Regions from separate parts of the Homo sapiens genome. Here all the other regions are linked to region 6. The links are contacts of gene promoters, found by promoter capture Hi-C in human tissues and cell types (Jung and others, 2019). All regions are on one chromosome and are shown on one strand. Each heading gives the region's core, a stretch centred on a gene start or on the middle of the fragment in contact. The rest is flanking DNA. Distances are from core to core; before and after follow the strand shown.

The links. Contacts are between HindIII fragments. The study calls those that stand out against the background at their distance.
Region 1: the fragment with the promoter of AKT1S1 here is called in contact with a fragment that was not itself captured in region 6 in 1 of the 25 tissues and cell types used here (dorsolateral prefrontal cortex).
Region 2: the fragment with the promoter of RCN3 here is called in contact with a fragment that was not itself captured in region 6 in 4 of the 25 tissues and cell types used here (dorsolateral prefrontal cortex, heart left ventricle, lymphoblastoid cells and 1 more).
Region 3: the fragment with the promoter of EMP3 here is called in contact with a fragment that was not itself captured in region 6 in 3 of the 25 tissues and cell types used here (dorsolateral prefrontal cortex, lymphoblastoid cells and spleen).
Region 4: the fragment with the promoter of NOSIP here is called in contact with a fragment that was not itself captured in region 6 in 1 of the 25 tissues and cell types used here (dorsolateral prefrontal cortex).
Region 5: the fragment with the promoter of KCNJ14 here is called in contact with a fragment that was not itself captured in region 6 in 1 of the 25 tissues and cell types used here (H1 embryonic stem cells).

Annotation. Positions count from the first base shown.
Region 1 is chr19:49,876,105-49,880,898 of GRCh38, forward strand. AKT1S1 (AKT1 substrate 1) reads right to left here and starts at 1,251. Exons shown (of 5, transcript NM_001098633.4): 1 at 1,133-1,251. TBC1D17 (TBC1 domain family member 17) reads left to right here and starts at 1,598. Exons shown (of 17, transcript NM_024682.3): 1 at 1,598-1,640; 2 at 2,039-2,137; 3 at 2,394-2,468; 4 at 4,175-4,298. The coding sequence starts at 1,620. RefSeq lists enhancers at 1-831, 415-1,054, 1,235-1,574, 1,792-2,751 and a silencer at 1,795-2,084. The HindIII fragment of the contact is 21,916 bases long and covers 1-4,794 here.
Region 2 is chr19:49,524,710-49,529,290 of GRCh38, forward strand. It overlaps RCN3 (reticulocalbin 3), which reads left to right and starts at 3,294. Exons shown (of 7, transcript NM_020650.3): 1 at 3,294-3,349; 2 at 3,758-4,005. The coding sequence starts at 3,764. It overlaps FCGRT (Fc gamma receptor and transporter), which reads left to right. Exons shown (of 7, transcript NM_001136019.3): 5 at 1-67; 6 at 748-864; 7 at 1,301-1,719. The coding sequence ends at 1,410. RefSeq lists an enhancer at 3,210-3,788 and a silencer at 3,252-3,371. The HindIII fragment of the contact is 21,368 bases long and covers 1-4,581 here.
Region 3 is chr19:48,322,608-48,326,801 of GRCh38, forward strand. It overlaps EMP3 (epithelial membrane protein 3 (MAM blood group)), which reads left to right and starts at 2,945. Exons shown (of 5, transcript NM_001425.3): 1 at 2,945-3,003. It overlaps LOC124904735 (a long non-coding RNA gene), which reads left to right. Exons shown (of 2, transcript XR_007067284.1): 2 at 183-915. RefSeq lists a silencer at 1,960-2,191 and enhancers at 2,769-2,818, 3,419-3,468, 3,759-3,828. The HindIII fragment of the contact is 22,631 bases long and covers 1-4,194 here.
Region 4 is chr19:49,578,087-49,582,426 of GRCh38, forward strand. NOSIP (nitric oxide synthase interacting protein) reads right to left here and starts at 2,470. Exons shown (of 9, transcript NM_001270960.2): 1 at 2,429-2,470. PRRG2 (proline rich and Gla domain 2) reads left to right here and starts at 3,230. Exons shown (of 7, transcript NM_000951.3): 1 at 3,230-3,395. The HindIII fragment of the contact is 33,716 bases long and covers 1-4,340 here.
Region 5 is chr19:48,453,779-48,458,519 of GRCh38, forward strand. It overlaps KCNJ14 (potassium inwardly rectifying channel subfamily J member 14), which reads left to right and starts at 1,796. Exons shown (of 3, transcript NM_013348.4): 1 at 1,796-2,080. GRWD1 (glutamate rich WD repeat containing 1) reads left to right here. Exons shown (of 7, transcript NM_031485.4): 7 at 1-3,244. The HindIII fragment of the contact is 6,064 bases long and covers 1,559-4,741 here.
Region 6 is chr19:48,986,802-48,991,435 of GRCh38, forward strand. GYS1 (glycogen synthase 1) reads right to left here. Exons shown (of 16, transcript NM_002103.5): 2 at 4,501-4,634; 3 at 393-584. Among named protein-coding and RNA genes, the nearest start is that of GYS1, 4.2 kb to the right of the region's middle. RefSeq lists a silencer at 1,651-1,833 and an enhancer at 2,964-3,355. The HindIII fragment of the contact is 7,422 bases long and covers 1-4,634 here.

The DNA.
Region 1 (4,794 bases), core at 1-2,500, 890 kb after region 6:
CCCACACCCCAAGATGTGAGGAACCTGAGCATGAACGCGGTAGCCATGGGGTGAGCGCCTGGGGCCACGCTCAGCTGCCCCGAGACCTCCCAACCTCGCCCGGGGTCCAGGGAGGACCCACTGGTCTAGGAAGAAAACAGGAAATCCCGCCCAGACGGAGGCCAGGACCGGAAGTCCCGCCTTTGGACGGGTGAGGGGCGCCCCGAGGCCCCCCAAACCATCCCCCGACCCCGTGGACGTGGTCCACGGCCCAGGTAGAGATCCCAGGCGCTCTGGAACCGCAAGGTGAGACTGTCTACGATTTGCCTCAGGTCTGACAGGACGATTCCCACGGGCGACCCCCTTCCAGCGCTCAGCAAAGGATCGCTGGCAGACCTCTGCCCTCTGATCTGTGCAGGCCATACCCCTCCCGTGAGCCGCTCGCCCTCCCAGCGCCCCGCTGCCTCAGGACGGCCAAATCCTCCCCACACCGCGGTTAACAACGCCGCCTCCACTCACGTGCCCGTAGCCAGCATGGCCGGCCCGGCGCCGTCACCGCCCTCAAAAGACATGGCGGCGCCTTGCGTCACGTCCGCGCAGTTGCCCCGCCTCCTCTCCGCACACTCCGCCTCCCTTATCGGGGCCGCCCGAGATCAAGATGGCGGCCACAGGGGCTTCATCCGAACCAGTTGACAAGGGTGACGACAGCTTGCCCCTAAGAAAAATGGCCCCGCCTAGAGCATTTCCATTTGCCCCCAACAATAATGGCCGTCCTCATATGCTCAATCATGACCACAGTAAACGAAGGCAAGCGACCTGACGTCCCTGACCCACAATAAACTTCTTCGACAAAAGTAGAGGAAATCGGTGCTCGTTAACAACATGGCAGCCAACCGGGCTTAATCAGCCCATAGTGTATATTGGCTCTCCCTCCCTCCAACCTGCTCCCATTCGGCACGAAGGCTGGCAAAGATCCAACACGGCAGCATTTCTTGCTTCGGTTTGCCAGGCTTCAAAATGGCGGCTCAGCCCGCTTTCTCGCGACGGTGACTCAGAAATTCGTCCGGGGCCGCTTCGTTTCTGGGGGCACTGACGGCTTCATCCCGTTATCCTGAGTCCCTCAGTGCCTCTTGTGGTGTACAGCTCCTCTCACCTCCTCTTCTCTTATCCGTTCGGCTCTTCCAGCTGTCGCGCCCCGCAGAGAGATGGGACAGCCCCGTATTAACATGGCCTTAGCTGACCGGCTTAGGCCATGCCCTCGAGCAAAATGGTACCTCCTTGGCTTCAATTCCAGTATACAATATGGAGAAGGAAGTGGGCGTTTCAAGGCGTGCTTGCCCCAGGTGGTGCAGCTCTCAGACCCTCCCACTTGTTTACTTCGTGGCGAGAGGGCGAACACTGCGCCTGCGCACTCTCCGTAGCCGGATCCACCTTCAGCGTCTGCGCCACGTGACTCCGATCCACCCTCGAGGTTCCAGTGGAATAACCCCCTTCTGAAAAATGGTTTCACCCGCTCCTTCTCTAGAACGGGTCGGGCCGCTACCACTGTCCGGCCCGGAGGGGAACTGTTTTCTCCGGAAGTGACAACACGCTGACTAGGAAAAGGAGGAGGCGGGGCAGTGGGGCCTTCGGCGGCGACTATGGAAGGAGCCGGCTACAGGGTAAGCACTGAGGACGCATTCCCTCGCTTCAGTGTATGCGAAACGCCCCGTCTAGTGATCAGCTCTTCTCTCAGGCCTTGGCTCTCGAGAATCCGGCACGGCCTTGGCAAACACCGATCTCTTATAAACGCGCCGTCACCCTCCCGTCCACCGCCCCAGGGAAGAACCTCCCATGGCCCCGCCCCCCCGGCTCAGGCGACTCCTTGAGCCCTGCCCCCTGTGGAACGCACGTCAGCATCCGAACGCGGGCTGGACCATTCTCCCCGCCTTGGTCCCGGGGCAATGGCCCTCCCGGCCCCGCCCCCTGAGGGTGGCTCCTCCCTGGGCCCGTCCCTATTGGCTCCCCAGGCTGGTCCCCTCGCTTGGGCCCCAGCCCTCGCTGGTTCCCCCCAACTCAGGTGGTGTTTGAGAAGGGCGGAGTGTACCTGCACACCAGCGCTAAGAAGTATCAGGACCGAGACTCTCTCATCGCTGGTGTCATCCGTGTCGTGGAAAAGGTGCGCTGGGAGGGAGCAGGGCTCGGACCCGCTCCGAGCGGGATGCAGGCGGTCTGGGATGCAGGCGGCAGCTGTAGGAGTTTGGTCTGGCGGTCAGCAGTGGGACCTGAAGAAGGCTGGGTGTGGGAACTGGAATGAGGGGCGGGACTTTGAAAGGCTGAGGGTAGAAACTGGGAAAGTTTGGAAATTTGCAACGGAAAGTTTTGGGAATGTGGTTTGGGGAGCGCCTCTAACCCCGCCTCCCTCCTTACCCTAGGACAATGACGTCCTCCTGCACTGGGCTCCTGTAGAGGAGGCTGGAGATTCCACCCAAATCCTCTTCTCCAAGAAGGTAGGCTCCACCCGCTTTGCCCTTCTCCACTCGCTTTTTTTCTAGGTCCGTGCTGTTGTAAGTCATTTGAGGGACCTGCGTACAATCCCAGACCTACTCGTGGGGCATGTGTGACCCTGTTTAGGCTTGGGTACTCTGCCTCTCCTTTTGCTCCTCTCTGTGAAATGGGCAGAGGATGCCCATTCAAGGAAAAAGAGCAGGGAGCATAAGACGCACGGTCGTGGGGACGGCTGACCCCTCTCTCCCTTTGCTTCTTGGGAGATCCCTGCCAGGGTGCAAGATGTGGATTCGAGTTGCTTGAAGGGAAATGGCATTTCCTCTGGTGCCAGAGGACAGGGCCTGACAGCCTACTCACCCACTTCGTCACTGCTCCCGGCTTTCCCTTCGTTATGTCTCCTGGGACTTCCCATGGCTGGACCCCGTCCTGGGCAATTCTGAGACCCAGAGATAAGTCAGATCCAGACCCACCTAAGCCCTGACCCTTACTCACTTTTTGAGAAACTGATAGATGAGGTCGAAAACGCTAGGAAGTGTTGGAACTTTTTGCACCCAGACAGTCTGATTCCAGATCCCCAACGCTTCCTGGGAGAGCAGACATTTGAGCTGGGACTCCCAGGATATGAAAGGACAAGAAGGTATTTCAGGGACAGCAGAACAACCTTCAAGGCACACGGAGAAGTTGGATGCCTCTGTAGGGGGGTTCTTTAGTGGGGAATGAGACCTCCATTGGAGCTGATGAGTTCCACCCAGGGGCCGGAAGTCAGTCGGCACCCACAGAGCTAGTGACGAGACACTGGAAGGCTGAGCTGACCACCTGCGCTGCCCCAGGGCAGGAGGATGAAGATGAAGATGAAGATGACTCTCCACCTTGCTCCACAGCCAAACACAGCCAAGGCACCAGGAAGTTGCGTTACATCACTTCCGCTTTCCAGGTTGGCCTGCATCTGGTTGGTAGAATTTGTCCTGTGTCCTGGATTCCAGCTGCAAAGAAACCTGGGAAATGTAGTGTGTTTTTTTTGTTGTTGTTATTGTTTTTTTTTTTTTTTTTTGACAGTCTCACTGTCTCAAAAGAGTGCAAAGTGGTATCTTATTGTGGTTTTGGTTTGTATTTACCTGGTGAGTACAACAGTGTCCATTGAGCACTCCGCAGCCTGACTGCAGAGCCACCTGCTGTGTAGCATGGACCTCCCCATGCAGTGGGAGACATGGGGTCAAGTCCTGGCTCGCTCTCTGGCTGCATTGGGTGACCCTGAGCAAGTGCTGTACTTTCTTTTTTCTTTTTTTTTTTTTTTTTTTAATGAGACAGAATTTGCTCTTGTTGCCCAGGCTGGAGTGCAATGGCGCCATCTCAGCTCACTGCAACCTCCGCCTCCCAGGTTCAAGCGATTTTCCTTTCTCACCCTCCCGAGTAGCTGGGATTACAGGCATGCGCCACCATGCCTGGCTAATTTTTTTGTATTTTTTTAGTAGAAACGAGGTTTCTCCATATTGGTCAGGCTGGTCTCGAACTCCCGACCTCAGGTGATCCGCCCGCCTCAGCCTCCCAAAGTGCTGGGATTACAGGCGTGAGCCACCGCACCCGGCCTGCTGTACCTTCTTTGTGCCTCAGTTTCCCTCTTTATTCAATGGGGCTATCTTCCAGGGTAGCCTCGAGGCTAAGATCTGAATCCATGGCCCCTTACTGTCTGCTCCTTTCCTCTCCTAAGGACTCCAGTGGGGGTGACTCATGTGCTTCTGAGGAGGAACCAACCTTTGACCCCGGCTATGAACCTGACTGGGCTGTCATCAGCACTGTGCGGCCACAGCTCTGCCACTCAGAGCCCACGAGAGGTAGGCTGAGGTGGCGGCCCTTGAGAAGCACGTGTGGGCCAGGTAGGACACATCTTGCCCTCAGTGGTCACGGTCCCAAGGGCTTTGCTGCCCACAATCAAGAAGGCCACCAGTCACCACCTTCCAGTCCCAGGAGCATGGAAGTGAATGGGAAGACAGGACTGTCCCAGCCCAGGTCAACATGGCCAGTGTCTCTGAGACTGCAGCCTTGCTCATCCTACTGGGCTCCCGGATTGGCTGTGGGTGCTCCCACACCAGGCCTGCCCCTGAGGTTCGAGGCTGGTGGGGTGACAGATGCAGCCAGTTAGGGTGATTTGCACCATCCTGGGGTCACACAGGGTGCAGGGGACATCCAGAGAAGGCACGTGACCCCTCTGGGGAATGGAGATTCCTTCCAGGAAGAGGTGATGCTGGAGCTTGGCACTGAGGGACTCTTGGGAGTTTTCTCTTCTGGCAGAGAGAGCAGCCCGTGCAAGCCAGAGGCAGGCGGCCCCCG
Region 2 (4,581 bases), core at 2,044-4,543, 540 kb after region 6:
GATGAGCACCACTACTGCTGCATTGTGCAGCACGCGGGGCTGGCGCAGCCCCTCAGGGTGGAGCTGGGTGAGGTCCCGCCAGGTGGTGATGCTCCTGGTTTCCCGTTGCCTTGTCTCACTGCTGCGCCGGTCCTTCCTGAGTCTGACCTTCCTCCCCACTGCTGCCACCTCCTTGAATCTGACTGCCTTGAACCTCACGCCTGTCAGTGCCCCCAAAACCTGATGGCTTGTCCTTCCCAAGGCCAACTGCCTTCCGTCTCCTGCTGCTTCTGGCCTCACTGAGTCTGAAGAGCTGTTAACTACCATGGCCAGTCCTCCCTGAGTCTGACCATCTTCCATCCTGCTGCTGCTGCTGCTGCTGCTGCGGGTCTTCCTGGAATCTGACCATTCGTTGTCTGCTATGCCCGTCCTCACCAAGACTGACTGCCTGCTGCTTTGCTACTGCCCGGGCCCATGAGACTGACTTCCCACTGCTCTGCCTGCCTCTCCCCACTGCACTGGCACAGCCCCGCCTTGCCGCTGCTGATCCATTGCCGGTGTGACCGCGGCCGCTCGTGCTGTAGCTGGTTCTTACGTCCAACCTGGGGGCAGTCTGCCCAGATCGCCTGCCTGGCCTCGCCTCTGCCCATCAGACACTTGGTGCTGGAATCTCCGAGGCTGGGAGGGACTGGGAGCGCCCCAGTTCTGTGTCCTGACTGGGTGGGGTGGAGGGGCTGCTCCACATCTCACAGCGTTCTCTGGCTGCAGAATCTCCAGCCAAGTCCTCCGTGCTCGTGGTGGGAATCGTCATCGGTGTCTTGCTACTCACGGCAGCGGCTGTAGGAGGAGCTCTGTTGTGGAGAAGGATGAGGAGTGGGCTGCCAGGTGGGGGGCAGCGGGAGGAAGAGCCTCTGAGAGAGGGACAGAGACCCCAAGAGAGGGGCACACAGACCTGGGAGGACAGAGACCCAGAGAGGGGGGACAGAGATCAGAGAGAGGTGGAGACAGAAACCCAGAGATGGGAGAACAGAGGTGCAGAGAGAGGGGGACGGAGACAGAGACCCAGAGACGGGGGAACAGAGACCCAGAGGGGACAGAGAGAGGTGCGGACAGAGGGAGGGGGAGACAGACCCAGAGGAGGGAGGCAAAGATGTAGAAAGAGGGGGGACGGAAAATTGGGAGAAGGGGAGACAAAGGCCCAGAAGGAAGGGGATAGAGACTGAGGAAGAGTGTGTGAGACACACACACAAATGGGGGACGCCAGTCAGACCCAGAGCGCCTCAGAGATTCTGATGACCTCTCCCTCTCTCTCTCTCCTCAGCCCCTTGGATCTCCCTTCGTGGAGACGACACCGGGGTCCTCCTGCCCACCCCAGGGGAGGCCCAGGATGCTGATTTGAAGGATGTAAATGTGATTCCAGCCACCGCCTGACCATCCGCCATTCCGACTGCTAAAAGCGAATGTAGTCAGGCCCCTTTCATGCTGTGAGACCTCCTGGAACACTGGCATCTCTGAGCCTCCAGAAGGGGTTCTGGGCCTAGTTGTCCTCCCTCTGGAGCCCCGTCCTGTGGTCTGCCTCAGTTTCCCCTCCTAATACATATGGCTGTTTTCCACCTCGATAATATAACACGAGTTTGGGCCCGAATCAGTGTGTTCTCATCATTTTTCAGGCAGGGGAGGTAAGGGAATAAGTCGGGGGACTGAATGGCGGCTGGGCCTCGGATCTCTCCTACAGGTAACATGCTGCCACAGGGGAACCTGCCAGTTTTATACATCAGGTCATGTATTTTCTTTTTCTTTTTCTTTTTTCTTTTTTTTTAGACGGAGTCTTGCTCTGTTGCTCAGTCCGGAGTCCTGTGGCGCGATCTCGGCTCACTGTAAGCTCCGCCTCCCTGGGTTCACGCCATTCTCCTGCCTCAGGCTCCCGAGTAGCTGGGACTACAGGCGCCTGCCACCATGCCTGGCTAATTTTTTGTATTTTTAGTACAGACGGGGTTTCACCATGTTAGCCAGGATGGTCTCGATCTCCTGACCTCATGATCCACCCGCCTCTGCCTCCCAAAGGGGTGGGATTACAAGTGTGAGCCACCGCGCCCGGCCTAAGGTCACTTTTTTTTTTTTTTTTTAAGACAGAGTTTTGCTCTTGTTGCTCAGACTGGAGTACAATTGCGTGATCTCAGCTCACTGCAACCTCCGCCTCCCAGGTTCAAGCAATTCTCCTGCCTCCCAAGTAGCTGGGATTACAGGCATGCACCACCACACCCGGCTAATTTTTTGTATTTAGTAGAGACGGGGTTTCACCATGTTGGTCAGGCTGGTCTGGAACTCCTGACCTCAGGTGATCCACCTGCCTCAGCTTCCCAAAGTTCTGGGATTACAGGCATTGAGCTACTGTGCTCAACCTGAGGTCATGTATTTTTAATTCATAACTTTTACAAATATTTACTGGATGACTGCCATGCCAGGCATTTTGAGGAATTCTTGGCTACTGTCTGACCACCTGAATCCTTGGAGCCGAAGAGGAGCGAGGAGCAGTGTTCACTCTTGGAGGAAATGGGATATTTCCTCCGGCCCCTTGATTCTGCTCTCCCTTTTCTTTTCTTTTCTTTTCTTTCTTTTTTTTTTTGAGACGGAGTTTCGCTCTTGTTGCCCAGGCTGGAATGCAATGGTGCGATCTCGGCTCACCACAACCTCCGCCTCCCAGGTTCAAGCAATTCTCCTGCCTCAGCCTCCCAAAGTAGCTGGGATTAAAGACATGCGCCACCACACCCGGCTAATTTTGTATGTTTAGTAGAGATGGGGTTTCTCCGTGTTGATCAGGCTGGTCTCGAACTCCCGACCTCAGGCGATCCGCCCGCCTCGGCCTCCCAAAGTTCTGGGATTACAGGCGTGAGCCACCGCGCCCGGCCTTTTTTCTTTTCTTTCGTTCTTTTTGTTTATTTTTGTTTTGTTTTGTTTTGTTTGGTATAGAAGTGTTGGAACGTACACCTCTTTCTTAAACCATCCTGACAAAGGGAAAGGGAAAAATACATTTCCCGTGAGGCGTTGTGACTAGAACAGCTGGAGGTGGACGGCAGAGTGCCGCGACGACTGCCAGGAGTTGTAGTTCTCCCCGGCCGCGTCACTGCGGTGTCGCCCACCCTTCTTCCCCGGGCAGGCCGCGGTTTCCTTTGTGGACGTGGCGAGGAGTGCCCGCGGCACCCCGTGCACTCATTGGCCCCGCCCCGTGAGACGCTCGTGCGAGCTCATTGGGCGGGGGGCGGGGCTCTGCGCTGCCAGAGGCGGGGCCTGACTGGAGAGCGGCCGAATTGGGCACATTTGCGGGAACGCAGAGCGGAGCGTGGAGAGCGGAGCGAAGCTGGATAACAGGGTAAAGGGAGTGGGTGGGGGGCCTCTGTCCAGGGAGGGCGGCTCGGGTCGAGGACCAGGGTCCGGACTGGGAGCAATGACGGGGAGCCTGCCTGACCTCTCGCTGGCCACAACTATGCCCTGCACCTTGCGTGGGATGTGCGCCACGTCTGTCTCTGTAATTCCCCCTGGCAGGTCTGGGACCCCCCTGAGACTCCGTCAGAAGATTCGGTCCTCCCCATAGGTGGCTTTACCTCTAAGCATCCCGCCCTCTTTTCCCCCATCGCCCGCCCTTTTTGAGCCCGAAAGCTTGCAGCCAACTTCCAACTCCCTGTCCTGTCCTAGGTAACCCCTCCACCCCGCCATTCTCCTATCCCGTGTCTGTCCCCATCCCTGTGACCCCTGACCCCTGGCCTTTGCCACTCCCCAGGGACCGATGATGTGGCGACCATCAGTTCTGCTGCTTCTGTTGCTACTGAGGCACGGGGCCCAGGGGAAGCCATCCCCAGACGCAGGCCCTCATGGCCAGGGGAGGGTGCACCAGGCGGCCCCCCTGAGCGACGCTCCCCATGATGACGCCCACGGGAACTTCCAGTACGACCATGAGGCTTTCCTGGGACGGGAAGTGGCCAAGGAATTCGACCAACTCACCCCAGAGGAAAGCCAGGCCCGTCTGGGGTAAGAGAGACATTCGGTTGGGGCGTGTCCAGAGGTGGGGCTTAGGAGAGAGACGCGGGGGTATCGACAGGGGTCAGAGAAATGGCGTGGACTGAACTTCATTTCTTTGTGAGAAATGAAATTCTACCTTCTATCCTTGGGAAAAAGAAATTAAGTTAAAATTGAGGCCTAAAGAGGACCTTTGAGACCGGGCGTGGTGGCTCATGCCTGTAATCCCAGCACTTTGGGAGGCCAAGGCAGGCCGATCACTTGAGGTCAGGAGTTCGAGAACAGCCTGGCCAACATGGTGAAATCCCGTCTCTACTAAAAATACAAAATTAGGCAGGCGTGGTGGTGGGCACCTGTAATCCCAGCTACTCGGGAGGCTGAGGCAGGAGAATCGCTTGAACCTGGGAGGTGGAGGTTGCAGTGAGCCAAAATTGCACCACTGCCCTCCAGTCAGGGCGACAAAGTGAGACTCCGTCTAAAAAACAACAACAACAATAAAAAAGAGGACCTTTGAGGGCAGCAAAATCTGGGTTAGATTCTGCCCCCTAAGCGCTCCTTATTCTTTTGTCCCAGACATCTCCCCTCCCC
Region 3 (4,194 bases), core at 1,695-4,194, 660 kb before region 6:
TGGATTCCCAACTTTAGCCTTGAGACCCAATGGACCCAAGAATTTGCCCCTTCCCCAACTCCTAGAGATCCTGAATCAGGGTCCCCCAGTACTGACTCCACTCAGAGCCCCAATGCCTGATATGACTAGCACTACCCTAAGAACTGCCCTATAATGTATTTACTATTATCTCTATTTTTCAGATGAAGAGACTGAGGCATAGAGAAGTTATTAGTAACTTGCCAAAAATTACACAGCCATTGAGTAAAACAGCTTGGATTTTGAGTCCAACCAGTGTGGCTCTAGAGTCTGTGCTATACTGGTATTCCAGCTTCCAGGTCTTGGGGTACCCAGCCAAGCACTGAACTGTCCATCCCTCACCCCCTCAGGGAGCCCGAATCACCAACAGCTATCCCAAACCCAGCTCTGGCCCATCAGATACCCAGACATCCCATCATCCAGTTCCCTTCCCTGGATCCAGGATTTGAATTCCCCTGCTCTCAATTTATCAGAGTTCTGGGCACCTGGTCCCCTCCCAAGAGACTCGTGTACATAGTAGTCATCACCCCGACCCTAATTTAATATCCCCAAAATTAATAATAATAGTTAACAGTAAACCTTTGGGGCCAGGCACAGTGTCTTACGCCTGTAATCCCATCATTTTGGGAGGCCAAGGCAGGCAGATCACTGGAGGTCAGGAGTTCGAGGCCAGCCTGGCCAACATGGAGAAACCCCCGTCTCTACTAAAAATACAAAAATTGGCTGGGCGTGGTGGCGGGCACCTGTAATCCCAGCTACTCAGGAGGCTGAGGCAGGAGAATCGCTTGAACCGGGAGGTGGAGGTTGCAGTGAGCTGAGATCATGCCACTGCACTCCAGCCTGGATGACAGAGCAAGACTCCATCTCAAAAAAAAAATAAAAATCTTTGGTACTACACTCTGTTAAAACCTAATGGCTTTCCACTGCACTTAGAATGAAATCCAAGCCCCTCCCCTAGTCTTCAAGGGCACCCTTTGATTTCCCTTCTCACCACTCCCTCTGTCTCCCTGTGCTCCAGCCACACTGGCCCTTCTGTCTGCTCCCTAAACAACCTGAGCTTGTTCTCAAAAGCTTTAAGAGCTTTTGCACTTCCTCTCCCCCCGACGCCCCCCCACCACTCCCCAACCCCAGCGTTCAAATGACTCCTGTCTTCAGCTCAAATGTTACCTCCTCCAAGAGGCCTTCCCTGATTTTCCTGTTTCAAGTAGTCTTCCCTGCACTCTGTCATTATCTCCATCACTCTGTTTGATTTATTATTGTATTTATTTTTCTTTTCTTCTTTTATTTTTTTTTTTCTTTAAGATGGAGTCTTGCTCTGTCACCCAGGATGGAGTGCAGTAGCGTGATTTCAGCTTACTGCAACCTCCGCCTCCCGGGTTCAAGCAATTCTCCTGTCTCAGCCTCCTGAGTAGCTGGGTTACAGGCGCCCACTACCATGCCTGGCTAATTTTTGTATTTTTAGTAGAGACAGGGTTTCACCATGTTGGCCAGGCTGGTCTTGAACTCTCGACCTCAGGTGATCCTCCAGCCTTGGCCTCCCAAAGTGCTGAGATTACAGGCATGAGCCACCACGTCCAGCCTATTGTATTTATTTTTCAAGTCACTTATCCTTATCTGAGATTTATCTTCATCATTGATGTTTTCTCTTGTCTGTCTTCCTCTACTAGAATACAAGCTCCATAATACCAGCAGGGCTCATGTCTGTTTTCATTATTAACTCCCAGATCAGAGTACATGTTCAATAAATGTTTGATGAAGGAAGGAACAGGTTAGGTGTGTGAGTGTGCCAGTATTACCTTATTCATTCAGCATAAGTATCAGAATTATTATTATCAGTATTAGTATTTTGTCAGCATTATTATACTCTCAACATAGACTAAGATACTGGAGCCCAGGTGGGTGAAATAATTGGCTCAAGGTCACTGAACCAGGAAATGATGGCGCTGGGATTCTTAGCTTCCGCTTCCTCCCCGCTTCCAGAGTTTCACAAGGTTTTTTTTTTTGTTTGTTTGTTTTTTGTTTTGTTTTGTTTTTTTTTTGCGACAGAATCTCACTTTGTCCCCCAGGTTGGAAGGCAGTGGTGCAAACTCAACTCACTGCAGCCTCCACCTCTCGCGTTCAAGCGATTCTCATGGCTCAGCCTCCCAAGTAGCTGGGATTACAGTCGCCCGCCACCACGCCCGGCTAATTTTTGTATTTTTGATAGAGACGGGTTTCCACCATGTTGGCCAGGCTGGTCTCGAACTCCTGACCTCAGATGATCTGCCCGTCTCGGCCTCCCAAAGTGCTGGGATTACAGGCGTGAGCCACAACGCCCTGCCGAGTTTCACAAATTTCATCTCCCATCCTCTGACCCCCCACCACGGGGCCAACTTCACCAGCCCAATCTCAAGTCCATGCCACAGAAATCTGGCCTCTTTTCCCAGACTCCTATCCAGCTCCAAGCTCCATCAGGGAAAGCAGACATCCGGCCCCAGGGCAAGACCTCAAAACTCAAGGGTCCTGAGAATCGGGCCCTCCCACCCCTGACGCTTGCCCCCCCCAAGAACCCCATTCCAAGAGTTTCTCATCTCAACCCTGGGAGGGAGCCCCAGATGATGTCTGTCTGGAGGGATTGGGTGGGGGCCCAAAGAAAGAGGAACCGGAGTGCCTGGGCCCTCCCACTGGCAGCCGACCTCAGCTGGGTGCGGTGAGGGTGGGTTTATAAAAGGGTCAGTATATATTGAGAGGAGGAGAGAAAGAGAAACGGGAGCAAGAGAGAAGGAGGCCCAGACAGTGAGGGCAGGAGGGAGAGAAGAGACGCAGAAGGAGAGCGAGCGAGAGAGAAAGGGTTCTGGATTGGAGGGGAGAGCAAGGGAGGGAGGAAGGCGGTGAGAGAGGCGGGGGCCTCGGGAGGGTGAAAGGAGGGAGGAGAAGGGCGGGGCACGGAGGCCCGAGCGAGGGACAAGACTCCGACTCCAGCTCTGACTTTTTTCGCGGCTCTCGGTAAGTTTCCAGTCCGTTATTCAGGGCTGGGACTTCTTAATTTACTTGGGAATGTAGCAGTTTGGGAAGGACACCCCCAGGCTGGGAGAGACGTCCCTGACTCTTGGAAATCCTTTTAATTTAATAAGTGATCTCTTAGCACTTGAGGTGGGGATATGGGAAGGGGTGGGGCCCGGCAAAGTTTTGGGGTCCCAGCAGAGCCCTCCACTGGAAAACTTCCTGCAGTTTTTCCCTCAGCGGTGTCCACTGTCCTCTGGGGTCCCTGAGATCAGGGCATTGCATGAGAACACCCCAAATCTGGGAGACCTCTAGGTCCCCTGTTCCTGGGCACCAAAGAGTCCTGGGAGGCTAACTCCTTCTTGGGCCTCTCTTCCCCCCAGCGCGAATCCTATCCATTTCCTCCAGAAGATGTCCAACAGTCACCAGTCTGGCAGCAGGGTGGGGTGAGGACCTCGTGGACATAGCCAGGGGCTGGGGTTTCCCTGGTGCTTAGAGATGGGGGGGGGTGGGGATGAGTCACCAGATGACTCACCAGGTCCCCCTCCTCCCCTCAACCCAGGAGAGGAGTGGTGTGAGTCAAGAATGCCTGTTGCTGGGGGCAGCTCCTCAATCCTGATGTCGGGGTGCAGGGTGGGGTCTCAACTTGAATTTTCACTATCTGGCCTGTATGTAACCCAGAGTCAGGGTTCTGGGGAGAGAGGAGCCACATTGCTAGTCCTCCTCATTCAAGGAACCCAAGAGTCCATCTTTGGCCCTCTCCACCCCTCCAGCCAATGGGGATCTCAGGAATCCAGGCCCCAGCGGTCTCCTCCCTGAGAGACCCAGGAGTCTGCACCCATGCCCTTCCTCCATCAGGAGACATCTCACCTGCCTTTATGCCAAATTTTTTTTTTTTTTTGAGACGGAGTCTTTCTCTGTCACCCAGGCTGGAGTGCAATGGCATGATCTTGGCTCATTGCAACCTTTGCCTCCTGGATTCCAGTGATTCTCCTGCCTCAGCCTCCCGAGTAGCTGGGATTACAGGTGTGCACCACCACACCCAGCTAATTTTGTATTTTTAGTAGAGATGGGGTTTCACCATGTTGGCCAGGCTGGTCTCGATCTCCTGACCTCAGGTGATCCTCCCGCCTCGGCCTCCCAAAGTGCTGGGGTTATAGGCGTGAGTGTGCCTGGCCTGTGCCAACCTCTTGA
Region 4 (4,340 bases), core at 1,220-3,719, 590 kb after region 6:
CAATGGGTGAACTATATGTTAGGTAAATCATATCCCACTAATGCTTTTTTTTTTTGAGAGGGAGTTATGCTCTTTTGCCCAGGCTGGAGTGAAGTGGCATGATCTCAGCTCACTGCAACCTCTGTCCCTAGGGTTCAAGCAATTCTCCTGCCTCAGCCTCCTGAGTAGCTGGGATTATAGGTGCCAGCCACCATGACCAGCCAATTTTTGTATTTTTAGTAGAGATGAGGTTTTACCATGTTGGCCAGGCTGGTTTCGAACTCCTGACCTCAGATGATCCACCTGCCTTCACCTCCCAAAGTGCAAGGATTACAGGCATGAGCCACTGTGCCTGCCCAATGGGGATTTTTAAAACAGGTAGCTGGCAGGATTTGAGTTTGGTCTGTAGAACATAATTAGCTGATCCCTGGCATGAGGAAACAAGTAAAATGAGGCCGGGCTCAATGGCTCACACCTGTAATCTAAGCACAGCACTTTGGGAGGCCAAGGCAGGAGGATCGCTTAAGCCCAGGAGTTTGAGACCAGCCTGGGCAACATAGTGACACCTTGTCTCTATCTATTTTTTCTTTTTTTTTTTTGAGACAGAGTCTCACTCTGTCGCCCAGGCTAGAGTGCAGTGGCGTGATCTCGGCTCACTGCAAGCTCTGCCTCCCGGGTTCACGCAATTCTCCTGCCTCAGCCTCCTGAGTAGCTGGGACTACAGGTGCCTGCCATCATGCCCGGCTAAGGGGTTTCACCGTGTTAGCCAGGATGGTCTTGATCTCCTGATCTCATGATCCGCCCGCCTTGGCCTCCCAAAGTGCTGGGATTACAGGCATGAGCCACTGTGTCTGGCCTATTTTTAAATACTTAAAAAAAAAAAGAAAGAAAACAGAAGCAGGTAAAATGAGACCACAAAAAAGCAAACGGGACAAATTCAGATGGTGGGATGATCAACTGAACTAGAATTAGTTTCTTCAATGAATCGATTACACCAAGAAATAACCAAAGTGGAGTGGAAGGGGGAACAGTTCTAAATTAAGAGAGATGTAAAAGACGATAGCAATTACTTAACTATATCCTGATTCCAACAAACCCACAGTTACACTGGACTTGACTCTGCACCACGTAATGGATAGTAGTCTAGAATTACGGTTGTTCTTTTAAAGTGTGATGATGGTATTGTGGTCATATCAGCAATGTTTCTGGTTTTTACACACGCACCCTGTTAGATAAAATTTATAGAAGGTCATTGGTTTGGATTGAGCTCCTGCACTAGGTTCAACAGACCAAACCAAAATGGAGACACTCATGCTAAAGTTCCATGCTTCCAAGCCAAAACTAAGTTGATATCTGATCTTCTGAGATATCAGGAGAGAGATAATAGCCAAATCCCCAAACAACCCAGTTTTAGCCCACCTGATAAAGGAAGTCCCCTCTACTTTAACCTTTAACTTAGAAATTTAATCAAGTTAATCAATTTAATCAACTAGCTTTTTGTTTTCCGTTTCTGATTTTCTCAGCCCTTTGTCTCTGAAAACAACCTCTGCTCAGCTCATCGGAACACTCACGCTATTTTCCATAATTAGATGTTGTTTGATTGTAGATTCACGAATAAATGCCAATTAAGATCTTCTCACTAAATGTGTTGCAATTTTGTCTTTTGACAATCCTTAAGTGTCATGATGCCTACGATTTGTTTTAATCTCTTTAAGTTTAAAAAAATACAGCAAGTATGGCAAAAATAATCATTGGTGATTTGGGTGACAGGAATTCCTGTATTCTTCTCTCACTTTTATATAAGTTTGAACATTTTCGTAAGAAAACATTAACATCAAACTGCCTCAAGGACCGTTCAAGCCCCAAGTTCACAGAATTAGCAGCACAATCAGAATGGGAATCCATGACTGCCTGACCCCGAAGCTCCACACAAGAAAACGTGAATCCCTGCACCAACCCCGAAAGGGAAGGGGCTGTCAAAAAGGTGAAGAGAAGGTGGCGATGGATGACTGCACAATCTAGTATCGCCCGCCGTCCCACCACAGTCTGAGAAACTGAGGCCAGGAAAGGAGTTCTCCCTCCTCAACTCCCACTCCTTAGACCCCCAGCAATCCCAGTCCACTCCTTCCCTTGGGACCACCAGCAAATAGCCATCATCTACAGCAGAACTGTAACTCTCAGGAGAACTGGCCGATGCTAGCTACCACTTGACTGAGTTTATAGTGAGAGAGAGAGACAAAGAGAGAGAGAACTGCCCGATGGACGGTTGGCCACCTCCAGCAGAGTGTAGTTCAGCTTCAAACTTGGGGCGCCCGGACAGCTGTATTAATAATGATTGACAGGGAATCGGGAATCCAAAATCTTGCCCCAGTCTCCCTCAAGACCCCAGGCCTCTAGCCCGCAGGAAAGCGATCCCAGCAACACTCTTCCTGCACCGCCTCGAACTCACCTCACTAACGACTCCCAGTCCCTCGGTCGCTTCTTCAACTGTGCCCCGACACCGGAAAGGAGCACTATTTTCCCCCTCCGCTCCGCCCACTTCCGCCCAGCAGAAGGCACCGGAAGTAGAGCTGCCCCTAGTTGCGGAAGTGCCTCGCCTGGCTTGCTCAAGTCCTCTCTTCTCTTTCTCTCTCCGGAAACGTGAGTAGCTAATCGAAAGTTCCGGATATTGAAACTGGTGGGAATATGGGGAACGCTTACTATGTACGAGGCATTTCCCAGGGAGATCGTTTTTTCCTGCTTGGTTCCCAGGTTTTGAGTCTCTCCAAGCCCAAATTTAAGGACTAATCACTTCCCCTAGAGATCGGGAAGCCCACTTTCCCAAATATATCATCCACTTTTCTTGCTGCATCTTAAAACAATTGAGAAGAGACAACTACGCTCCCATTTTACAGACAGAGCCATTGGGAAATTGAAAATCAAAGCCGTTCAAGTCGCTCTCAGGAAACAGGGATTTACTGCGGCACTGCCCAGCTGTCCCAGGGACTAAGGCATATCGTTCCCGCTAGTTTCTAGATACCTAGAGACCTAGATATTAATTTTTCTAGCTCGGACAGACGAACTCCCAGGGGAGAGCCAGAGCGGGTAGGGGTCGGGAGGGAGGAGGAGGGTCGAATCTAATCCCCCAGGTATCCCATGGTATTCGACACCTTGGCTTCCTCATGGAGCTCTGGCCTTTAAGTCCTTTATCCCAAGGTCCCTTTAAATACTTTGTCCCTTACCTGAGTCCCGCCCAGGGCAGGTAATGGCAAGTTCCGCCCACCTGCCAGAAACGGGGATCAGGCCTGGTTACCGGGAGTGGGGCGCCCCTCCTCCTTATCCCCTCCCCTCTTCCCTGTCCCCTTTCACAGCTGGCTGTAGCTGGCCAAGGAGTTCTCGATTAAAGAGGAAGGGGCAGTGCTCACATTTCTGGGCAGGTAAGTGAATGTCCCTGGAGGAAGAGCCTGGCTTGGGGACCCAGGCATCCTGGCTCCCCGCCCCTCCGAGACCCAGAAGTTTGGGGCTCCTAGGCCCAGGAGTCCAGGGCCCCTGCCCACTTAGGTCCCTAGACCCAATAATATAACTAATCCCCTGCCTCTGCCTCTCTCGTAATCTTTGTTGTCTGTGGGTGGATGTGACAATGAGCACAGAAAGAGGCACAAGTGGAAATTACCAGGAAGGGAAGACTCCAGATCACCAGTGGACATGTTTATAAGCATCTGTGTCAGGTGCTGTAGACACAGTGGGGAAAGAAAGATAAGCTGCCTGCTCCTTGCTTTCTTCTCTGGCGGACACTGCCTTCACTGAAATCCTGGCTCTCACACTTGCACACTGTGTGACCTTCGGCAAGCTATATTACCTCTCTGTGCCTCAGTTTCCTGTTCTCTATACTGGGGATAATAATAGGACTCCTGGTCGGGCGCAGTGGCTCACACCTGTAATCCCAGCACTTTGGGAGGCCGAGGCGGGTGGATCACTTGAGGTCAGGAGTTTGAGACCAGCCTGGCCAACATGGTGAAACCCCATCTCTACTAAAAATACAAAAAATTAGCCAGGCGTGGTGGTGCGCACCTGTAATCTCAACTACCCGGGAGGCTGAGTCAGGAGAATCGCTTGAACCCAGGAGGCAGAGGTCACAGTGAGCTGAGATAGCGCCACTGCACTCCAGCCTGGGTGACAGAGCGAGACTCTGTCTAAAAAAAAAAAAAAAAAAAAACTCCTGTGAAAAGTTTTGTTTTGTTTTGTTTTTGACATGGAATCTCGCTCTGTCACCCAGGCTGGAGTGCAGTGGCACAGTCTCGGCTCACTGCAACCTCTGTCTCCCCTTTCAAGTGATTATTCTGGCTCAGCCTCCCAAGTAGTTGGGATTACAGGCGCCCACA
Region 5 (4,741 bases), core at 546-3,045, 530 kb before region 6:
GATTTCTCCGTGTGGGGGCTACATGCGACCCTCTCCCCTCCTCCCTGACTTTAGAGGCTGGTGCTGTGTCGGGAGGAAGGTCAGGGCTCCTGAGCAGCAATAAAGGACCAGGAAGAGGCCTGAGGTGTATTTGAGACTCTGGTCCTTTGGCCACAGCCCTATGAGGAAACGGGGTGTGGGGGGAGTTTGGGGGTGGGGAGGAATTTGGCACCAGCTGCCCCCAGGCCGCTAGGCTGGGGGAGGCCACTGGGAGTCCAGTGCAACCCAACCTTCCGCCCACTGGGTGCCGCCGCGTTCTGCCTTCTCTAAGTGTCCTTCCATCTGGAACTCACTCTGGCTTAGTGAAAGGGGCCTCATCCCTGACCCCCACCAGCTTATGAAGGCTTCATCTCAGGGAACTCTGGACCCCCCATTTCTCCCTCCGTCCATCTCCCCTTTATCACGTTTCTTTCTTTCTTCTCTGTGTCCCCCTCTTTCAGAGTCTCCCGTCCCCCACTGCCAGTCTCCCTGCCCCCTAGTCGCTGTCTCGCTCCTCCGCCGCTGTCTCCTGTCCAGCCTGCCTGGGCTGTGGCCCAGCCGCTCTGCCTGGCTGGCCTCCCTGGCTCCCCCTCTGCGGCTCTGAGCTAGCCCCACCCCCGGCCCCCCTCCATCCAGCCTCTGATCCATCTGTGGACTCCGAGGTCGGGTGCCCGTCACACGGCCCCTGGGACCAAGGACAGACTACAGCCCCTCAGCACCCACAGAGGCTTCCCCTCAGCCCTAGCCGAGGAGCCCCCAGCGGAGGGCATGGGGGTGGGCCGCCCCAACAGGTACGTGCCTCCATGCAAGGCACCGCTGAGCCATCCCCTCCTGCTCTGCTGCGTCGCCCCCATCCACCCCTGCCCCAGCATCCCTGTCCTCAGCTTGTCCCCTTCAAGAAGGCCTTGTCTTCCCATCAGTGACAGGCTCAGCGCCAGGAGAATCCACCCCCAGGTTCAGTGCCTCCAACTCTCACCCCATCCCCATTTTATGCATTTTCTCACTGGCTTCCATCCTTTCAGAGAAACCCTCTCAGTCTGTCTGTCTCTGTCTCTGTCTCTCTCCCCCATCTCTGTCTCTCCCATCTCTCTCTGCCTCTCTCTGTCTTCACAATTTCATCTCCCCATGTCGCCATTTCTTAAAACATTTCTTTTCTCCTTTTCGTTTTCCCAATTGCCCTGTCCGCCTCTATCTTCTCTGTCCCCCTCCATCTAGGTCTCTGTCCCCCCCTCTCTCTGGGTCTCTGTCCCCCTCTGTCTCTGAGTCTCTATCCTCTCAAGGTCTCTGTTCCCCTCTCTCTGGGTCTCTGTCCTCTCTCAAGGTCTCTGTCCCTTTCTCTCTGGATCAATGTCCCTTTCCTGCTGCCCTCTCTGGGTCTCTGTCCCCCTCTCTCTCAGGGTCCCTGTCCTGCTTGGTCCCTGTACTTTTTCTTGGGGCACCCTCTCAACACCCCTCCTCCTGCCTATCTCTGCATCTCTTTGTCTTTCTGTAGTCTCTGCTTTCCAACCTGCTGTCCAGCCCCCACCAGTAGGTGGGGAGTGGTGGGGAACACCCCTGGTTTCGGAAGAGTGAGAGTGTTGATTTGGGAGGGTGAGGGTGGGGCCTGGGGGCGGGGCTTCTTGGCCTCAGATTAGACAGTGACTTTGACACGAAGTTGAAGCACCTTAAGCCCTGTATCTCCTTTATATGGAAACATTAAGCTGCTCTCGCAGGTCAGGTGGAGGATCCCTTTCCCTCCCGCCCTGCTTTTGCTAGGGGAGGGGGGTGCCCTGAGCCTGAGTCGCAGCCAGCCTGGGAGCTGGGCCATGTTGGCCGCAGATGGCCCCCTGGTGAAGGTTCCCGTTGGCTTTGGGAAGTAGACAACGGGTCTGCCTCACGGGGCTGAGGTGGGACTGGAGGATTTCGAGGGCAGAACTCTGGGAAGGAAAGAAAGGCTTAGGACCCAACCAGCATTCCCCCTGGCACTGCGGGGGCCTGGCCAGCTCATGGCGTTCCCTGAGCCTGTTCCCCAACTGTGAAAGGGGGTGATGATCTTCACCTCCCGGCATCCTGAGCGGCCAAGGTGAGCAGTGGGGTCTGAGAGTCCAGTGGGGGCTGTGGGCATGTCGGGAGCTCATCACGAGGCCTCGTACATACCAGGTGTGTTTGAAACCAGAGTGCTCTTGAGAAGACTGTGGTTTGTCACTCGGGCCGTGGCTCCCAGGAGGCCTGGGTGGGAGGCTAGCTTTTGCCACTCCTCTCCCCACTGGCTGAGAGACCTGCGACAAGGGACTAACCTCAGCCCCAGTTGGCTTTTCTGTGAAAAGCCAGGTCCCTTCATCAAAGGGCTTTGGTGAGAGATGGGCAAGTGGGGGTGAGAGGCCCAGGCTGGGGCCTGGGGAGCACAGGTCAGTGTCAGTGCCCACCTGCCCCCCCAGCCCACGGGGGTGGTTCCTGAGGGTGGAGTCAGTGCTGAGTGGGGATCCCCAGGCTGGGGAGGGCTGCAGGTGTAGATGCTGCATCCTGATGTTGACCTCCAGGCCGCCCCCTTGGGCAACGAGCCTATTTCCCCTTTTTGGGAGAACAGTCTCTAACATGCAGGGTTGTCAGGGGTGAGATAGAGTCAAGGTTGGGGTACACTGTGGGCACTGGACACAGCCAGGCTGGTCCCCTCACCTCAGCCTTGCCTCTGTCAAGTGGGCCTAATGAACCCTCGCGAATGGCCAGGCTGCCTGCGTGGTTGTGGGAAGCAGGTGCAGGGCTTTGGGAGACCCAGTTGGTGCCAAACTTGACATTGTCTCATGGTCTTCTTTCCAAATGGAGTGTGCCAGGCCCTGCCAAGAAGCCCCTGAGGATCCCCAGGTTCCAGCACAAATTATTTAACCCCTGGAATGGTTTGTCCTGATCCAGCCAGTTCCTGGGAAGTTCCCCACCACAGGGCCAAGCGTTTGGTAACGTTGCAGTGAACCCTGAAGGCAATGAGGGGTGCGGGTCCATGCCCAGCCCTTTCCTTTGGTCCACCCTGACAGGCTGCTGCGATTCCCTCCATTTCTTTTCTTCCTTTATTTTTTATTTTTAATTATTTATTTATTTTTTAGAGACAGGGTTTTGCTGTCTTCCCCAGGCTGGTTCTCAAACCCCTGGCCTCACGCATTCCTCCTGAGTTGGACTCCCAAAGTGCTAGGATTACAGGTGTGAGCCACCGCACCTGCCCTCTTTTTTTTTTTTTTTTCTTTAAGAGATAGGGTCTTGCTCTGTTGCCCAGGCTGCAGTGCAGTGGTAGAGCATCATAGCTCACTGCAGCCTTGAACTCTGGGCTCAAGTGATCCCCCACCTCAGTCTCCACAGTAGCTGCATCACCATGGCTGGATACTTTTTGTTTTTAAGATAGGGTCTCGCCATGTTCCCTAAGCTGGTTTCAGACTCCCGGGTTCCAACAGTCCTCCCACCTTGGCCTCCCAGAGTGCTGGGATTACAGGTGTGAGCCACCATGCCCAGCCCCCAGGCCTCCTGCCTTTCACAGATGAGAGCTGAGGCTCAGGAAAGGATTTGACCTGTCATCCATCACACACCTAGTAAATGGTTGAGCAAACTGAGTCTCTGGAAAAAGAAGCCAGAGATCCCAGGGGACATGGTGGGTGAGCAACTAAGCCAGGACTGGGCCCTCATCCATATGGTAAGAAGGCCCTTCCTGGTCTTTTAAGAAGTCCCAATTTCCCCACCTTACAATGGAGGAAACCGAGACTCAGAAAGAGTTGCCAAAGATCAGAGGGTCGGGCATGAGGCCCATTTCATTTATTTTACAATAGCTTCATTGAAATCTAATTCACATATCATATCATACACTCACTACAGGGTACAATTCAATGGCTTTTAGTGTATTCACAATTGTGCAGCCATCACAATTAATTTTTTTTTTTTAAATGGAGTCTTGCTTTGTCGCCCAAGCTCGAGTGCACTCGTGCACTCTCAGCTCACTGCAACCTCCACCTCCCGGGTTCAAGTGATTCTCCCACCTCAGCCTCCCGAGTAGCTGGGATTACAGGTGCGCGCCTGTAATCACCATACCCGGCTAATTTTTGTTATTTTTAGTGGAGACGGGGTTTCACCATGTTGGCCAAGCTGGTCTCGAACTCCTGACCTCAAATGATCTGCCTACCTTGGCCTCCCAAAGTCCTGGGATTACAGGTGCGAGCCACCGCACCTGGCCAGCATAATGTTTTCAAGGTTTATCCATGTTGTTGCATCTATCGATACTTCATTTCTCTTTATTGTCAAATACTATTCATTGGATGAATATACCACATTTTATTTATTCATTAGTTGGTTGATACTTGGGTTTCCACCTTTTGGCTATTATGAGTAATGCTGCTGTGAACATTTGTGTACCAGTTTTTGCATCTGTTTTCATTTCTCTTGGGTACATAAGTAGGAGTGCAATTGCTGGGTGATGTGGTAATTCTATGTTTAACCATTTAAGTAACTGCCAGACTGCTTCCTACAGCAGCTGCAATTTTTCATTCCCCACAGCAGTGTATGAGGATGCCAATTTCTCCACATTCTCGCCAACACTTGTTTTTTTTATTATAGCCATTCTAAGTGGGTGCAAAATGGTATTCCTTTGTGCTTTTGATTTGCATTTCTCTGATGGCTAATGATGTTGAGCATCTTTTCATATGTTTATGAGCCATTTGTATACCTTCTTTGGAGAAACGTCTGTACAGATCCTTTGCCTACTTTTTTT
Region 6 (4,634 bases), core at 671-3,170:
ACTAAGCTTCTTGAGCCTCTTAAAACCTAGAAGGGGGTCAAAACCAGGTCAGGCTGGGGATTCATGAGCATCCAGGGCAGCATCTGAGAGCTGAGTCCAGCAATATCACACTAGAGAACTACAACTCCTAGAATTCCTCGGGCAAGCCCGCCAGCCTCACTTTGAGGCTGATTCCAAGAATCCCTATGCTTGGAAGACTAGAGTAAATGAAGTTGGCATCGAGAGTAGAGCCTGGGCCCTTGGATGTTCATGTCCTCAAAGGCCAGAGCTAATCCTTGGATTAAAGGACCCTATGACTCCCAGAATGCCCAGGGAGAAGCCCATCCTCTGGCCCAGGGGCTGATGGTCATTGTAGTTTCAGGTATGGGTGGAATGTGTCAGACGGGGCCTACCTCACCCAGGAACCAGGTGGTCAGAAAGCCAAAGAGGACAGCGTCGTTGGCCTCGCGGTCGTACCACGGCACTCCGATGTTGCAGGTATCCCAGAGCTCTCCCTTCCAGCGCTCCAGGGCCCAAGCTGAGGCACCCACGTCCAGGAGCACCACCAGAGGGCCTCCCTCGATCAGCCAGCGCCCGAAATACACCTGGGATGGGGTTGGGGAGGCACCATAGGGAGGCTCTGGGCTTCAGCCTCATATCTTCACTCATCCGTGGTTCTCCCATTTGCAGGCAGATGTCTATAGACTTAAGCCTCAGCTCTCTTATCTTCTGTTTCCATATCTGCTGCTAATTTCTCACCTGCTGCCTTAGCCTTACTTCTCTATTTGCATGATTTATTCCTGCTACACATTTTTTCCATCTCTGTTGCAATATTTTCCGTGCCCCCTGCTTACTTTCTTTCTTTCTTTTTTTTGAGATGGAGTCTCACTCTGTGGCCCAGGCTGGAGTGCAGTGGTGCGATCTCAGCTCACTGCAACCTCTGTCTCCCGGGTTCAAGCAATTCTCCTGCCTCAGCCTCCCAAGTAGCTGGGATTACAGGCACCCGCTCCCACACCTGGCTAATTTTTTTTTTTTCTTGAGACGGAGTCTGGCTCTGTTGCCCAGGCTGGAGTGCCGTGGCATGATCTCGGCTCACTGCAACCTCTGCCTCCTGGGTTCACACCATTCTCCTGCCTCAGCCTCCCGAGTAGCTGGGACTACAGCGGCCCGCCACCACGCCCGGCTACTTTTTTTTGTATTTTCAGTAGAGACGAGGTTTCACTGTGTTAGCCAGGATGATCTCCATTTCCCGACCTTGTGATCCGCCCGCCTCGGCGTCCCAAAGTGCTGGGATTACAGGCGTGAGCCACCGCACCCAGCCTCCTGTTTAATTCCTGTAACTGCTACCCTTCTCCCACTCGCTGCCTCCTTTCTCTGCTTATAACCACATATGTCACATGTCCTGTGTCTATGCCCCCACTGCCCTGTCTGGCCACTCTGCAAATCATTTCCCCTACCTGCTGCCTTGTTTCTGTACTTGCTGCCACATTTCTCTTACCAACCATCTGCATCTCCCACTGTCTTTTCTTTCTGATGCTAATTCCTTCCACGGGATGCTTCTTTTTTGTTTTCAGACAGGGTCTCGCTCTGTTGCCCAGGCTGGAGTGCAGTGGTGTGAACATGGTTCACTATAGCCTCAACCTCCCTGGCTCAGTCAATCCTCCCACCTCACCTCCTACAGGCGTGGGCCACCATGCCAGGCTGATTTTTTAATTTTTTGTGGAGATGGGGTCTCACTATGTTGCCCAGGCTGATCGTGAACTCCTGCGTTCAAGCAGTTTTCTTGCTTAGCCTCCCAAAGTGTTGAGATTAGAAGTGTGAGCCACCTAAAGCAGGCCCTTTTTTATTTTCAGAGACGGGGTCTTGCTCTGTCCTCCAGCCTGGAAGGGAGTGGTGCAATTACGGTTCACTGAAGCTTCGATCTCCCAGGCTCAAGCAATCCTTCCACCGCAGCTTCCCACGTAGCTGGGACCACAGGCACAAGGTATCACATCCCGGCTAATTTTTAACTTTTTTGTAAGGACAGGGTTTCACCATGTTGCCCAGGCTGGTCTCAAACTCCTGGCCTCAGCCTACCAAAGTGCTGGGATTACAGGCGTGAGCTACTGCACCCAGCCTGTAATGATTCTCTTACTGTTCATGCTGCCACTTTTCTTCCCCATGATGCCTTGTTTCTGTTCCTTTCATCACATATCTGTCACCTGCGACCTCTTTCCTCTATCCATAGGCCCATTTTGTAGTCCACAGCCTCCTTCCTTCCTTCCTTGCTTCCTTCCTTCCTTCCTTCCCTCTCTCCCTCCTTCCCTCCCTCTCTCCTTTTTCTTTCTTTCTTCCATTTTTTTTTGTTTGTTTTTGTTTTTGACAGGGTCTCACTCCGGTCACCCAGGCTGGAGTGCAGTGGTGCAATCATGGCTCACTGGGCTGGGCGCGGTGGCTCACGCCTGTAATCCTAGCTCTTTGGGGGGCCGAGGCGGGCGGATTGCCTGAGCTCAGGAGTTTGAGACCAGCCTGGGCAACATGGTGAAACCCTGTCTCTACTAAAATACAAAAAATTAGCCGGGCGTGGCAGCATGTGCCTGAGGTCCCAGCTACTTGGGAGGCCGAGGCAGGAGAATTGCTTGAACGCGGGAGGCGGAGGTTGCAGTGAGTCGAGATTGTACCACTGCACTCCAGACTCAGCGACAGAGTGAGATTCTATCTGAAAAAAAAAAAAAAAAAATTATGGCTCACTACAGCCTCCACATCCCATCCTCCCACCTCAGCCTCCTGAGTAACTGGGATCACGAGCACGCACCATCATGCCTGGCTAATTTTTTGTATTTTTAGTAGAGACAGAGTTTCGCCATGTTGCCCAGGTGGGTCAGGAACTCCTGGGCTCAAGCTATCCTCTCACCTCGGCCTCCCAAAGTGCTGGGATTCCAGGCATGAGCCACCGCCCTCGGCCACGCCACACATTTCTAACATAGCCCATCCTCTGTCCGTGCCCCAGGGCTGCATTTTTCTAGCCACTGCCGTGTTTCTAAGACTTGCTGTCTCACTTCTGCCTCTGCCACATTTCTCCAGTTGGCTGTTTTCCTCCCTGAGACCATGGCTTTGGTTCTGGGCCTGCTGCCACAGCAGTGGAGAAGCAGCCCCGCTCCTCGCCGACCTGGCTTTTTGCTGCCTGGAGCCTCGCTCTGAGGTCCCTCCCCCTCCCAGCTGTTGTCTGCCCTTTTGCTGGGGGGGGGGGGGGGCTATTCTTAGGCCCCCAGCACGTGGGAAGCAGCTGCCCTCAGGAAGCGACTGGGCTGTTCTGGGTTCCCTTAGGGACACAGTCGGACCTGAATGGATTCCAGACCCCACCCCAAACCAGAGGCTGTGAATGAGTAAAGGAACCACAGTGCCTCTCCATCCCCAGCCTGGACCTGTCTGTCCCTTAGCCCTGCCGCCTGATGGCTTTCTCCTTGGACAACAGCGTGCCGCCTGATGGCTTTCTCCTTGGACAACAGCGTGTCTCTTTCCGTCTTCACCCTGGGGCCCTGGAACTCCCCCTCCTCTCTAATCCCTGATCTGCCCATCTCAGACTCTGTCCTGTGGGTCTGTCCACTGACCTCTCCTCTCTTCCCCGATATTCCATGCTTCTCTCTCCTTCTAGGACTGGCTTTCTGAAACATCTGGTGGCCTCTCTTCTGTCCCCAGTCTATTACTCTTGCCTGTGGCTCCATCCACCCTTCTCCCTTGGTCTGCCTGTCCCCCTCACTCTCCAAGCTTGGCTGTTAGTAACAATAATGACGATGATCATAACAATGACAATCACCGCCCACACAATGTGCTACCTTCATGCCAAGAACTCTACTAACCACTTTGTCCTTATTAACTGTTTCCTCCTCCCAGCACCGCTAGAAGGTAGACGCTATTAGCATGTCCATTAGCCAAGGACACACAGGCAGCAAGTGGAGGGTGAACTTGAACTTCAAGCTCCAGAATCCTGCTCCTTCCTGACCTCAGGCCCACTTCTCCCCAGCTCTGCCTGGCTGGCTGGCATTCTTTTCTGAGACAGAGTCTCGCTCCGTCGCCCAGGCTGGAGTGCAGTGGCCCAATCGCAGCTCACTGCAACCTCCGCCTCCCGGGTTCAAGCGATTCTCCTGCCTCAGCCTCCCGAGTAGCTGGGATTACAGGCACCCGCCACCACACCCAGCTAATTTTTGTATTTTTGGTAGAGACGGGGTTTCGCCATGTTGACCAGGCTGTCTTTCGATCTTGCTCTCTTTCTCTCTGGGTCTGAGGACCTTGGCCTCTTGGATCTCCGTCTCAGTCTGTCTCATACTTGCCATCTGTCTGTCCATTCGCCCATGTCTGGGATCCACCCACCCACTTCCAGGCCCTGCATCTGTCTGGGTGTCCTATCACGCCTCCTTCCTGTGTCCAAGCCTGCCTCGCTCTCTGGCTGGGGCTGTCCACCCTGCACCCTCTCCGTCTGTGGCTCCCACCCCGATGGCAGGCTGTCCACCCGCTTCTGCCCTGGGCTGGGCCACGTCCCACCTTGCAGCCCTTGCTGTTCATGGAATCCAGTGTCCTCTTCAGGGCCGGGGTGGGGGCCTCCAGCAGTTCCACCTGGGTCCTCACGCCCTGCTCCGTGTACGGCCCCACCAGGAAGTAGTTGTCGCCCCATTCGT